Regions from separate parts of the Homo sapiens genome. Here regions 2 and 3 are each linked to region 1. Evidence: promoter capture Hi-C in human tissues and cell types (Jung and others, 2019). All regions are on one chromosome and are shown on one strand. The core of a region is centred on a gene start or on the middle of the fragment in contact, and the rest is flanking DNA. Distances in the headings are between cores, read along the strand shown. Region 1 holds the start of RPL35A (ribosomal protein L35a). Region 2 has its middle 21 kb from the start of BDH1. Region 3 holds the start of LOC105374309 (a long non-coding RNA gene).

Region 1 (3,729 bases), core at 1,058-3,557:
AAAGAAAAGAAAGAAAAGAAAAAACAAGGGGCGGGGCACCGTGGCTCCTGCCTGTAATCCCAGCACTTTGGGAGGCTGAGGTGGGTGGATCACAAGTTCAGGAGTTTAAGACCAGCCTGGCCAAAATGGTGAAACCCCATCTCTACTAAATATACAAAAATTAGACAGGCATGGTGGCGGCCGCCTGTAATCCCAGCTACTCAGGAGGCTAAGGCAGGAGAATCCCTTGAACCCGGGAGGCGGAGGTTGCGGTGAGCCGATATTGTGCTACTGCACTCCAGCCTAGGTGACAGTGAGACTCCGTCTCCAAAAAAAAAAAAAAAAAAAAAAAAAACCCATAATTTTAAGGCATTAACAAAATGCATTAAGCACAAGTGTTCTAAAAATCCTTAAATTCTGGCAAAAGGAGCCGAGAAAAAAAATTAGAAACCTTAAAAGGATCACAATATAAGGAATTACCTCCTTTATTGCTTACAAGTGCAAAAGGTACCTAAATCCAACACCACCCTCAGAAGTAACGTCCTTCTAAAACTCCCCATTAAGTTCCTTAATGACGCAAAATAGAAGCCACAGCAATACCAATCCAGCCTGGCCAACATGGGGAAACCCATTCTCTAGTAAAAATACAAAAATTAGCCGGGCGTGGTGGCACACCCCTGTAAGCCCAGCTACTCAGGAGGCTGAGGCAGGAGAATCGCTTGAGCCAGGAGGCAGAGGCTGCAGCGAGCCAAGATCGCGCTACTGCCCTCCAACCTGGGCAACAGAGACTCTTGTCACAAAAACAAAAAAACAATACCAAGTACTTCAGCTAAATCTTTTGTTTATTATTTCAATAGGATAATGAGGCCAGGCGCGGTGGCTCAAGCCTGTAATCTCAGCACTTTGGGAGGCCGAGGTGGGCGGATCACCTAAGGTCAGGAGTTTGGGACCAGCCTGGCCAACATGGCAATACCCTGTCTCTACTAATAATACAAAAACTAGCCGGGCGTGGTGGCCGGCGCCTGTAATCCCAGCTACTCGGGAGGCTGAGACAGGACACTTGCTTGAACCCGGGAGGCGGAGGTTTCGGTGAGGGAGACCAAGTCACTGCATTCCAGCCTCGGCAACAGAGCAAGACTCCGTTATATAAAAAAGAAAATGAGGCAGATCTCAAAAACCCAAAACCTACCAGTGTCATAAACTTACTTCTTTGCTTTATATACATAAGCGCATCTCTTGCCCAAATAGAATTCTGTTTCATCTCGGGCGTAAACACCTTCAATTTTAAGAAGAGCTGTGTGCTCCCTTTGGTTCCGGAGACCCCGCTTATAGCCAGCAAAAATGGCCTTGGACCACAGCCTAAGACACAAAAGATACACAACATGAAACATAAGCTTCAAAAAACCAATCTGACTTGTAATCACCCCCACCCAAAAGTTACTCAGAGCAAACATCTAAGTTTTTTCTTGCCAATTTTAAGCTCGCATTTACGTTCACGTCTAACACACAAAAATAAAGAACTATATTTAAAACGCGTACCTTCCAGACATAGTTCCTTTTAGAAGTCCCGTTCCCAGCAGGCCTTAAAACAAACAAAAAGATTAGTTTAAAACCAAGCCACACAAGTTTCCCACCTCGTCCCCTCTCGTTTAAGCCCCTAAAGCAAATTCCTTTTGGATGGGAGTTTCATGTAGGAGTTCGGGGACAACAATGCCAGAACATCCATATGAAACGCAGGGTCCGGCAAGACATTCAAACCTCAGAGAACAGCTGGTATCTAAGCAAACTTCAGAATGAAGACAAAACTAAGGGACAGGAGTCACAAAAATGACTCTCAGAAAAGCCTGAGAAAATGCATGCCGTTATCAGTAGGCAACACTCAGGAAAAGAAATGAAGCCTTAAAGAGAAACACACACGTAAGACTTTTATGCAATGGCTGGGGGAGAAAAGCTGAGGAAAGAGACTGGTCAGACAAGCCAAGGAAGGTATGGACTGGGAGGAAACGGATGAAGGAAGCACTGCCTCATGGACAACTGCACACGAACAAAAACATCGTTTCACTCCGTTCAGGCCCAGGAATTTAACTGGGATAACCCGGGCAGCCGTTCTCCGGGTGTCAGGGGACCAAACACCATCAGCCCAACATCTCCTCCATCCTGTTCTCCCTCTTCTTGAAACCCGTAGAAATCAATGGCTGGCAGAGACTCCGATACGCACCGGCGACTCGCCAAGGCACAGGAACAAACCTACTCCGGTTATTTGCCCCCAAATTTCAGCAGCAGACCCTTCACTCACCTCCACAGGAGCCAAGATGGCGGTAAGAGAAGGACGAGGCCCCGCCGCGTGGCCTTGTGGGATTAAACATCTTTCGACTCCGCCCTCAATTTAGGCATCTTCTCCAAACGCCAGAAAAACAATCCTCGGAAATCGGCTTCGCACTGAAATAAGCCACATTCAATAGCACTCTTACAATTATTTTCCTAAGTCCTTTCATCTTGGTAGGCTGCAAAATGTACTACTTGGGAACAAGGGAAGGCAAAATGGTAGCCAGCTAAATCCGCCAAAGCTGTGCGTTGCCATAGAAACAACTTAGTTTACTTCCTGCGTCCCCGGACGCCGTAGGTGGAAAGGCGAACCCTGAGTGGAGGATGTTCCCGCTGCCTAAAGAATGATTGACTGTAAGATTGATTTGCCAACAGTGGGGTGCTTTTCTCTCGATACACACAGCAATAGACAGAACGGAAATTCTGGGATCCTAATCTAGCATGGAAGAGAAAGGCCGGGAGCACGAAGGCAGCAGGACCTCTTCCTTCTCTTTTTTCTTTTTCTATACTTCTTTTCTCCCCTCTACTTATTTATCTCTTTCAAGAAATGAGACTGGGCACAGTGGCTCACGCCTGTAAACCCAGCTCTTTGGGAAGCCGAGGCGGGAGGATCGCTTGAGGCCAGGAGTTCGAGACCAGCCTGGGCAACATAGTGAGACCACCTCCCCCAACCTCTACAAAAGAAAAAAAAAATGAATGAAATGACTTAAGTTCTTACCTCCATTCTTCTTTTTGGATCCGAGGTATGAGGAGGACTGCCTGCAGGAGGCTTTATCGCCCTTTTAGGAGAACTCGTTTAGCTGCCTCGTGTCCGCACCTAGTAGGTCCTCCGTAGATACTTGTAGAGGTGGATTAGTGGACGCCAGAGATTCACATTTCCGAATTATTGCATATTTATTTGGGTTATCCTATGGATTCATTCATTTATTTAACACATAGTTTAATGAATGACTACCCTGTACCAAGGTTTGTGTAAGATGACACGGCAGTAAACAAATCTATGCCCTCGTGGAGCTTATATCCTACGAGGCGGAGCAACACAATGAGCAAGTAAAAATAGATGACACGTTAGAAGATGATAATTTCTGTGAAGAAAATTAAGCAGAGAGGCCACTGTAAAAGAGGCTTTCCCCACTTTGAGATGGGAAGTATGTAAAAGAGGCTTCCCCTGCTTTGAGATGGGAACTATTTAAGGGTCCTGAACAGAAGGGTGACTCTATCTGACTTCTATATTGACAAAGTCACTGTGTTGAAAGTGAAGGGAGGCAAGGGTATCAGCAGGAAGATAATTATAGGTTCCTGTAGTGACTATGATGAGAGGTGATGGTGTGTAAACAGAGGATATTGAGTACTGGAATTCTGAATATATTTAAATTCTGGCAAGATTTGCTGGTGGATGAGGAATGAGAGAGAGTAAAGTATGAC
Region 2 (3,476 bases), core at 869-3,368, 370 kb after region 1:
AGTGATGACATACATTCTTTATGACTCTACATTTTCTTGTTGTCTTTAGGTTTTATTACCATTGTGACTTTCATCATTTCTTCTACTATATATTCTGAATGGGAAAGCTTTTAATTTTTCCCTGCATTTGTTTTGTATTCAACCAATTTCCTGAATTCCATTATTATTCTAATAATTTTAGCGCTGACTTTCCTAAATATTCTGGGTTAATAATACTAGTTAGTACCTGAGTAATGGTGGTTTGTCTTCTTTTATTTATACTTCATTTCTTTTTCCTGCCTTTTGTCCTCGCCATTGCAGTGTCTTGATGGGATGTCTCTCTTTGGCACCCTTTGGGATATGACTCTGAACTCTGCCTTCTGGCTGCAGTCCCCTCAACTCTGGATGGAGCTCTATTATTTTTGTGTGGGGGTGGGGGCTTATCTCCTGAGCCAGCCTCTGCTTGTCAGAACACACTCTTCCTGCAAGCATGGTTTCCACGGGCCCCTGCTATGGCAGCCACAGCCTCACATCGTGAAGAACACACTCTTCCTGCAAGCACGGTTTCCACGCTCCCCTGCTGTGGCAGCCACAGCCTCACATCATGAGGATGATACGCAGCCATTCAAGGGATAACCTCTAAGGACAGCCTGGCATGTCTGAACTCACTTCTCTTCCCACTGCCAGTTGAGCCTTGCCTTCTAGCTCAGTCAGCACTGGGAGACTAGGCTACTCAATCTGGTGGTCTTTTGTTTCCAGCTCTCCCCAATATCCCTATTGTGCATTCCTCATGCCCCATACTCTCCTTGACTTCCCCTAATTGACCCCAACTTGTGTCCTACATCCTTCATCTCCCCAGACCTGACCTAATGATTGGAGAGAGGAAGCAGGATGTTGAGCGAGGGAAGCTGAATTTCTCCTGCACTGGAGCCTGGCTGCAGAACCTGAGGAAGTAGGAGGGATGAAGAAGCAAGAAAGCTTCCAGCAACCTTTAGTCAGCCTCAAGAAGTCTCCGGCTAGGAGGCAATGCTAAACCAGGACAACCTAGAGATACCCTGGCTGGCCAGGGCTTCCTAAAAAAGACGTGTTGCTGGGTGGTTGCGTTGCCTTAAGAACACACCCATTACCCAGTGAATCTGCCGTGAGTCAGAGAGACGCCCCTGAAGACACATTACCTGGAGGAGATAAGCTCCCCAGCCTCCCCCACAGCCATTCCCCAGTCTCTTCTCTTCAGCTTCTTCATTTCTCCTCCTTCCAGTCTGGCCACTGGCTCAGGCCACAGCGGACACCCTGTTCACAGCCTGCATCACCCTCCTGAGACAGAACCTTCTCCAAGTGTTTGCCTTTGGGCAGGTCCCAAGGTACCACCTGGAGCTGCTGGAAAGGGTAGTCCTGACAGCAACCCCCTGGTGATCCGGTCCTTGCTAGCTCCTCCCCCGGCCTCCCTGTAATGCTGGGTGCAGAGGGATGCACCAGGGAGCTGCGTGTAAGTGGTGAACAGGAGAGCGTCTGGGTGACTGAACGGGGAGAAGGGAGGGGAAAGGATGGGAGAGGCTGAAGCAAACATCTTTGAGGAAAACGGGTAATGACGGAGCTGGTAGACAATGGTGAGAGAAGGAAGGGTGACACTGAAAGTAGTCATGCTCCTTTTTATTTAATTGAGATCTTCTTTTTCTCTTTTTGCCAATTAATAATATGTTTTGGTCTGGGGGATGCTTGGGAAGGCCCCATTGTTCAAAATATCTCTTTCAGGAACCTGGAACACCACCATTTGAGACTCACTTCTTTAGGTCTTGAGGGCTTTTTGGTCTTTGAGATGCTTTTGTGTAAAGTTAATGCACCTCCAGTGCCCTCTGAACAAAGGCCGGTGAACGTGGACTAAGCTTCCCTGGCCATCCTTGTCTCCTGCAGCTTACCCTCCTCCCCGCCCCAACCTGAAGGAGTAGCTCCCTCCCCGTTGAGAGCTCCATGGCTACGCCTAATTTACATCACCCTCCCCAAGCTGGAGGAGTAGTTCCCTCCCCATCCCAGAGCTCCATGGCTTTGCCTAATTTACATGACCCTCCCCACGCTGGAGGAGTAGTTCCTTCCCCGTCCCAGAGCTCCATGGCTATGCCTCACTTGCCTCACTGGGCCCAAGCTGTCCTGGAAGGGAGGAAGCTGCGGATGTGTCTGTTCCCTTCCTTGGGCTGTGAGCACCTGGATGGCAGGGACTACAGAGACCCCAGGGGGTGGAGGGGGTGAAAAGCAAGTTTCACATGTCCTGTTTGGCCTGAGACCAGGCCCCTACCTGACTTATGCTCCAGGTCGCAGACAGACCAATTCCACAGCAGAGGAATCTATTTCAACGTTGTATCAGACTCCAGTCTAGGAAGCAGACCACACTGAGTGAGTATATCAGTCAGAGTTCCCCAAAGAAACAGAACCAGTCTATATACAGTGGTGTGTGTGCGCGTGTGTGTGTGTGTGTGTGTGTGTGTGTGTGTGTGTGTGTGTGGAGAGAGAGAGACAGAAAGAGAGAGTTTAGAAATTGTCTCATACGACTGTAGAGGCTTTGTCAGAGGCATTTGAACCACAGCAACTCCATCTTGAATAGGGGCTGGGTAAAATAAGGCCAAGACCTACTGGGCTGCATTCCCAGATGGTTAGGCATTCTAAGTCACAGGATGAGATAGGAGGTCACAAGATACACGTCATAAAGACCTTGCTGATAAAACAGGTTGCAGTAAAGGAGCCGGCTAAATCCCACCAAAATCAAAATGGCCATGAGAGTGACCTCTGGTGGTCCTCACTGCTACACTCCCACCACCGCCATGACAGTTTACAAATGTCATGGCAACATCAGGAAGTTACCCTAAATTGTCTAAAAAGGGGAGGCATGAATAGTCCACCCCTAGTTTAGCATATCATCAAGAAATAGCCAAAAAAAAAAAAAAAAAAAAAAAGCAACCAGCAGCCCTCAGGGCTGTTCTGCCTATGGGGTAGCCATTTTTAAAAATCATTTACTTTCCTAATGAACTAGCTTTCATTTTACTCTATGGACTTACCTTGAGTTCTTCCTTGCATGATATCCAAGAACCTGCTCCTGGGGTCTGGATTGGGACCCCTTTCCTGTAACAGCATGGTAAGTCCAAAATCTGTAGAGTAGGCTAAGACCCTGGAGACTCAGGGAGGAGTTACAGTTTGAATCTGAAGGCAGTCTGCTTGCAGAATTTCTTCCTTTCCTGGGGAAGTCAGTCTTTTTCCATTAAGGCCTTTAGCTGATTGGAAGAAATCCACCCAGATTATAGAGGTAACTGCTTTACTCAAATTCCATCAGTCAAATCTCATTCAAAAAACACCTTCACAAAAACAACCAGAATAATGTTTTGAGGTAGGATTTTTGTTCTTGGTCACTTTGCAAGCTGGAAACCCCCAGCTGGCGATGTCCTGTCCAGACCTCCCTCAGCCAGGCTGGCATGCCCCAGCTTGCCTGTGTTATAGGTTGTACCTGCATT
Region 3 (3,978 bases), core at 48-2,547, 470 kb after region 1:
CAAATTTCTTCACAAAGTATATTGTGCTTCCAAAGCTTCCTGTGGTGTCTTCGGAGCTGTGTCTAGCTGCATCAGCAGAGCTGCGTCTCTTGGGGCTTCCAGGATAAGCTGGGTGGAAGGATGGGGAGAGCTGTAGGTGACCCTGGACCGTATTCCCAGGACTCCAGGCTCCCAGCTGTTTGGCCAATTAAAGAAGAAACCTTCTGCTTTGTACAGACCCACTTCCCACACAAAGAGCTCGGGGGAGAACAAAAAGAGCCAGCAATGCCTGCACTCTGGGAAGGCTGAGCCTCACGCAAGGGTGCTGACTCAGAAGCAGCAGTTGCTTGCCCTAGGAGCCTGCAGTCGTTGGCACAATCAAAAATCAATTAAAACATGCCATTCTGCTTTGCTCACCCTATGCCAGCCTCTCCAGGCACTTCCCCTCATTTTCAGCTCCTCCCAGAGTTCTTTGCTGCCTAATTAACTTGGAGTCCAATAGCCTGAGCAGGAGGCAAGCTGTACAGGAGTGAGGAGCATTGAACCAGGAGCCTAAGCCTCAGGACCTGCTTTGGCTGCACTGTAACTATTCCTGGGACTGTCAGCAAATCATTTAACTCCCTGGGCCTTGGGTGCCTCAACTATGAAACAGGTGGTGATTGTCTACCTTCCTGTCCAGGTGTTTTGGGGAATAATCTTGAGAGTAAAGAATGTATGGCCAGGTGCGGTGGCTCATGCCTGTAATCCCAACACTTTGGGAGGCTGAGGTGGGTGGATCACGAGGTCAAGAGATCAAGACCATCCTGCCTAACATGGTGAAACCCTGTATCTACTTAAAATACAAAAATTAGCTGGGCGTGGTGGCAGGCATCTGTAATCCCAGCTACTCAGGAGGCTGAGGCAGGAGAATCGCTTGAACCCAGGAGGTGGAGGTTGCAGTGAGCCAAGATTGCACCATTGCACTCCAGCCTGGGTGACACAGAGAGACTCCGTCTCAAAAAAAAAAAAAAAAAAAAAAGAATGTATGTGGCCACACTCTTGTAAATTGTAAATTCCTGTTTAAATTTAATAGATTCTATGATATCTAACATATACAATATGACAAAACACATTTTAACCTACATTTAAAAGGAATTCTAAAAAAGTATTCCTTCTTTTTTAGTTGCAAAATTGTTTGGAGGGAATAAGTCAACAATCTACAAACTTACCAAGTTTCTCACAGCTGACACCATTTCTCTTTGGTCTCAGTGGCCCAGAGCAGGAGCTCTAACTGGGTGCGCCGGAATGACTGCAGCGGCGCGTTCCAGGAGCCTCTAAGGAAAGGTTGCCAGATTAAGCAAATAAAAATACGGGATGGGCCAGGCACAGTGGCTCACGCCTGTAATTGCAGCACTTTGGGAGGCTGAGATGGGAGGATTGCTTGAGTCCAGGAGTTTGAGACCAGCCTGGGCAATATAGTGAGACTTTGTCTCTACAAAAAATAAACAAAATTAGCCAGGTATGGTAGTGCAAACCTGTAGTCCCAGCTACTCAGGAGACTAAGGTGGGAGGATCACTTGAGCCTGGGAGGTCGGGGCTATAGTGAAACATTATTGCACCACTGCACTCCAGACTGGGTGACAGAGGGAGACCCTGTCTCAAAAACAAACAAACAAACAAACAAAAAACAGGATATCCACTTAAAATGAATTTCAGATAAATGATGAATAATTTTTTGTATGAGTATGTCCCAAATATTGCATGGGATAAACGTATACTACTTTCATTGTTTACCCGAAATTCAAATTTATCTGGGTGTCTTCTATTTCATCCGGCAGCTCTCCAGGATGCCTGGGCAGCATGAAGCAGAAGACTCGGCCACTTGAATCCCCAATATGCCTCACCCATGTCTCCAGGAGACAGCCCTGCCTTCAGGGGAGGGTCTCCTTGCACTTCAAGCTCTTTGGATTAAGAAATGGTTTATAGGCTGGACGCAGTGGCTCACGCCTGTAATCCCAGCACTTTGGGAGGCCAAGGTGGGTGGATCACTTGAGGTCAGGAGTTCAAGACCAGCCTGGCCAACATGGTGAAACCCCGTCTCTACTAAAAATACAAAAAGTATCTGGGCATGGTAGTGGGCACCTGTAGTCCCAGCTACTCAGGAGGCTGAGGCAGGAGAATCACTTAAACCTGCGAGGTGGAGGTTCAGTGAGCCAAGATCGTGCAACTGCACTCCAGCCTGGGTGACAGACGAGGCTCTGTCTCAAAAAAAAAAAAAAAAAAAAAAAAGTCTATCTTTAATAACTCAACACATATAGACTGTCTCAAAAAAAAAAAAAAAGAGATGGTATATCTTTTATAAGTCAACACATATATTTGATGGCTGCCCATGAGCAGAAGAGCATTGTCTAAATGTGTAAGACAATAGGTCTGGCCACCAGAGACTTGAACCTCAGAGAGGTTTAATGGAAGCTTTAATGGAAGGAGAGGACACCAAACTCACAGGAAACAACAAGATAGACGGTTAGGGTGAGGAGGGTGTTCGCTGGGCGGGGAGGACGAGGATAAAACCAGGAGATGAGGAACCAGGGGCTCCTCATCCCACAGCACATCCCCCTCCCCACTGACCGGGCACTCGGCACTCAGCCCTGCTCTTTGTCTTGTCCTTACACAGTTCTTCCCTGCAAGGTCCACACCCTGGAGCCAGTAATGGGCTTTGGATGCAGGCTTTTCAGTGAGGGAGTGGGAAGCAGTGAGGAGAATGACCTGAGACGGAGCCCCCTGGGAGAGCGGCAGATTTCACACTCTGTGCTGTGACTTGTCATTAGCAGCCCCAGAAGTGCACACAAAGGAGAAGAAAGGAAAATCGTCTGCTGACCCTGCCATGTTCTGAATTCAGTAGACACTTGTCTGGGCCCGTAGAGTCTCCCTTCTCCCCTTCTTTCCACCCTTCCTGCCTTTCTTCTTTATTTCCTGACCAGCTACCACGAGCAGGGCCTTTTACCTGACTGACTAAGGGAAATTGGCCAGAGTCCCACTCGTAGGAGGCAGGGAAATTAGGAAGGAAAAGGACTGAGGATGGAGAGATCATGTCCAATTCGAGAACCCAGGAAGGCTTCCTGGAGGAGCTAGCATTTTGTTCTGAGTCTTGAATACATAGTATTTGGACATGTAGAGACAGGGGAGAAGGAGGGCACACCCACACAGAGGAAGAGGGAGGGCAAGGAACAGGGCTGGGGAGGCCCAGAACACACAAAAGTATTGGTGGTCAGAATGAGTGACAACCCCCCTGAGGTTGGCTTCAGGATTCAAACCAGGGGTCTGAGGTAAAGGGAAGTGAGGTTTGCATCGTCCTGGGATGCTCAGAGAAACATTCTGGCCACTTGTTTACCTCTTTTTCTCTTTTCCTTCTGAAAAACAAGGAAATTCAGTAGACACTTGTCTGGGCCTTTTTCTTCTGAAAAAGAAGGAAAAGAGCACATGTTCTCTGTTGGAGGCTCATTTATAATTCAGGCAACCTCCTTCAGAGGGAGCAGGTGTTTCTCTGGGATGAAACACCTTGGGAAACAGAATGTACAAGTGGAAAAAAAAGCATGTCACAGCACAGCCAGGCAGAGAAAAGCTTGGGTCGAGGCAAGGGCAGAAGGAAGAGGAGGCGTGAGAAGACAAGGCAGCAAAAGACAGCAGCAATCCCTTCCCACCCAACATGCTCACGCTCTCCCTCTCTCTTTTCCTCTCTCTGCAAATCTGGATTGACATTACCCCCTTCAACCCCAGTGTCCATAATTCCATCATTAGAATGCCTTTCTTTGAGTCTTAATAGCTCCTCCTTCAAGACTACCCCCACCCCAACCTTTTTTTTTTTTCTTTTGAGACTGAGTCTTGCTCTGTCGCCCAGGCTGGAGTGCAGTGGCACAGCCTCGGCTCACTGCAACCTCCGCCTCCCAGGTTCAAGCAATTCTCCTGCCTCAGCCTCCCGAGTAGCTGGAATCACAGGTACCCACCACCACACCTGGCTAG

The links. Contacts are between HindIII fragments. The study calls those that stand out against the background at their distance.
Region 2: a contact is called between a fragment that was not itself captured here and the fragment with the promoter of RPL35A in region 1, in 1 of the 25 tissues and cell types used here (IMR-90 fibroblasts).
Region 3: a fragment that was not itself captured here is called in contact with the fragment with the promoter of RPL35A in region 1 in 1 of the 25 tissues and cell types used here (lymphoblastoid cells).

Annotation. Positions count from the first base shown.
Region 1 is chr3:197,948,768-197,952,496 of GRCh38, reverse strand. RPL35A (ribosomal protein L35a) reads right to left here and starts at 2,307. Exons shown (of 5, transcript NM_000996.4): 1 at 2,276-2,307; 2 at 1,519-1,561; 3 at 1,186-1,338. The coding sequence starts at 1,529. All of the region lies in intron 2 of DRC9 (dynein regulatory complex subunit 9), which reads left to right. RefSeq lists enhancers at 258-1,039, 1,823-2,605, 2,685-2,904. The HindIII fragment of the contact is 11,846 bases long and covers 1-3,729 here.
Region 2 is chr3:197,575,534-197,579,009 of GRCh38, reverse strand. No RefSeq gene overlaps it. Among named protein-coding and RNA genes, the nearest start is that of BDH1, 21 kb to the right of the region's middle. RefSeq lists an enhancer at 2,169-2,670. The HindIII fragment of the contact is 3,172 bases long and covers 533-3,476 here.
Region 3 is chr3:197,475,318-197,479,295 of GRCh38, reverse strand. LOC105374309 (a long non-coding RNA gene) reads right to left here and starts at 1,310. Exons shown (of 2, transcript XR_924902.1): 1 at 1,188-1,310; 2 at 1-108. RefSeq lists an enhancer at 1-998. The HindIII fragment of the contact is 3,417 bases long and covers 1-3,005 here.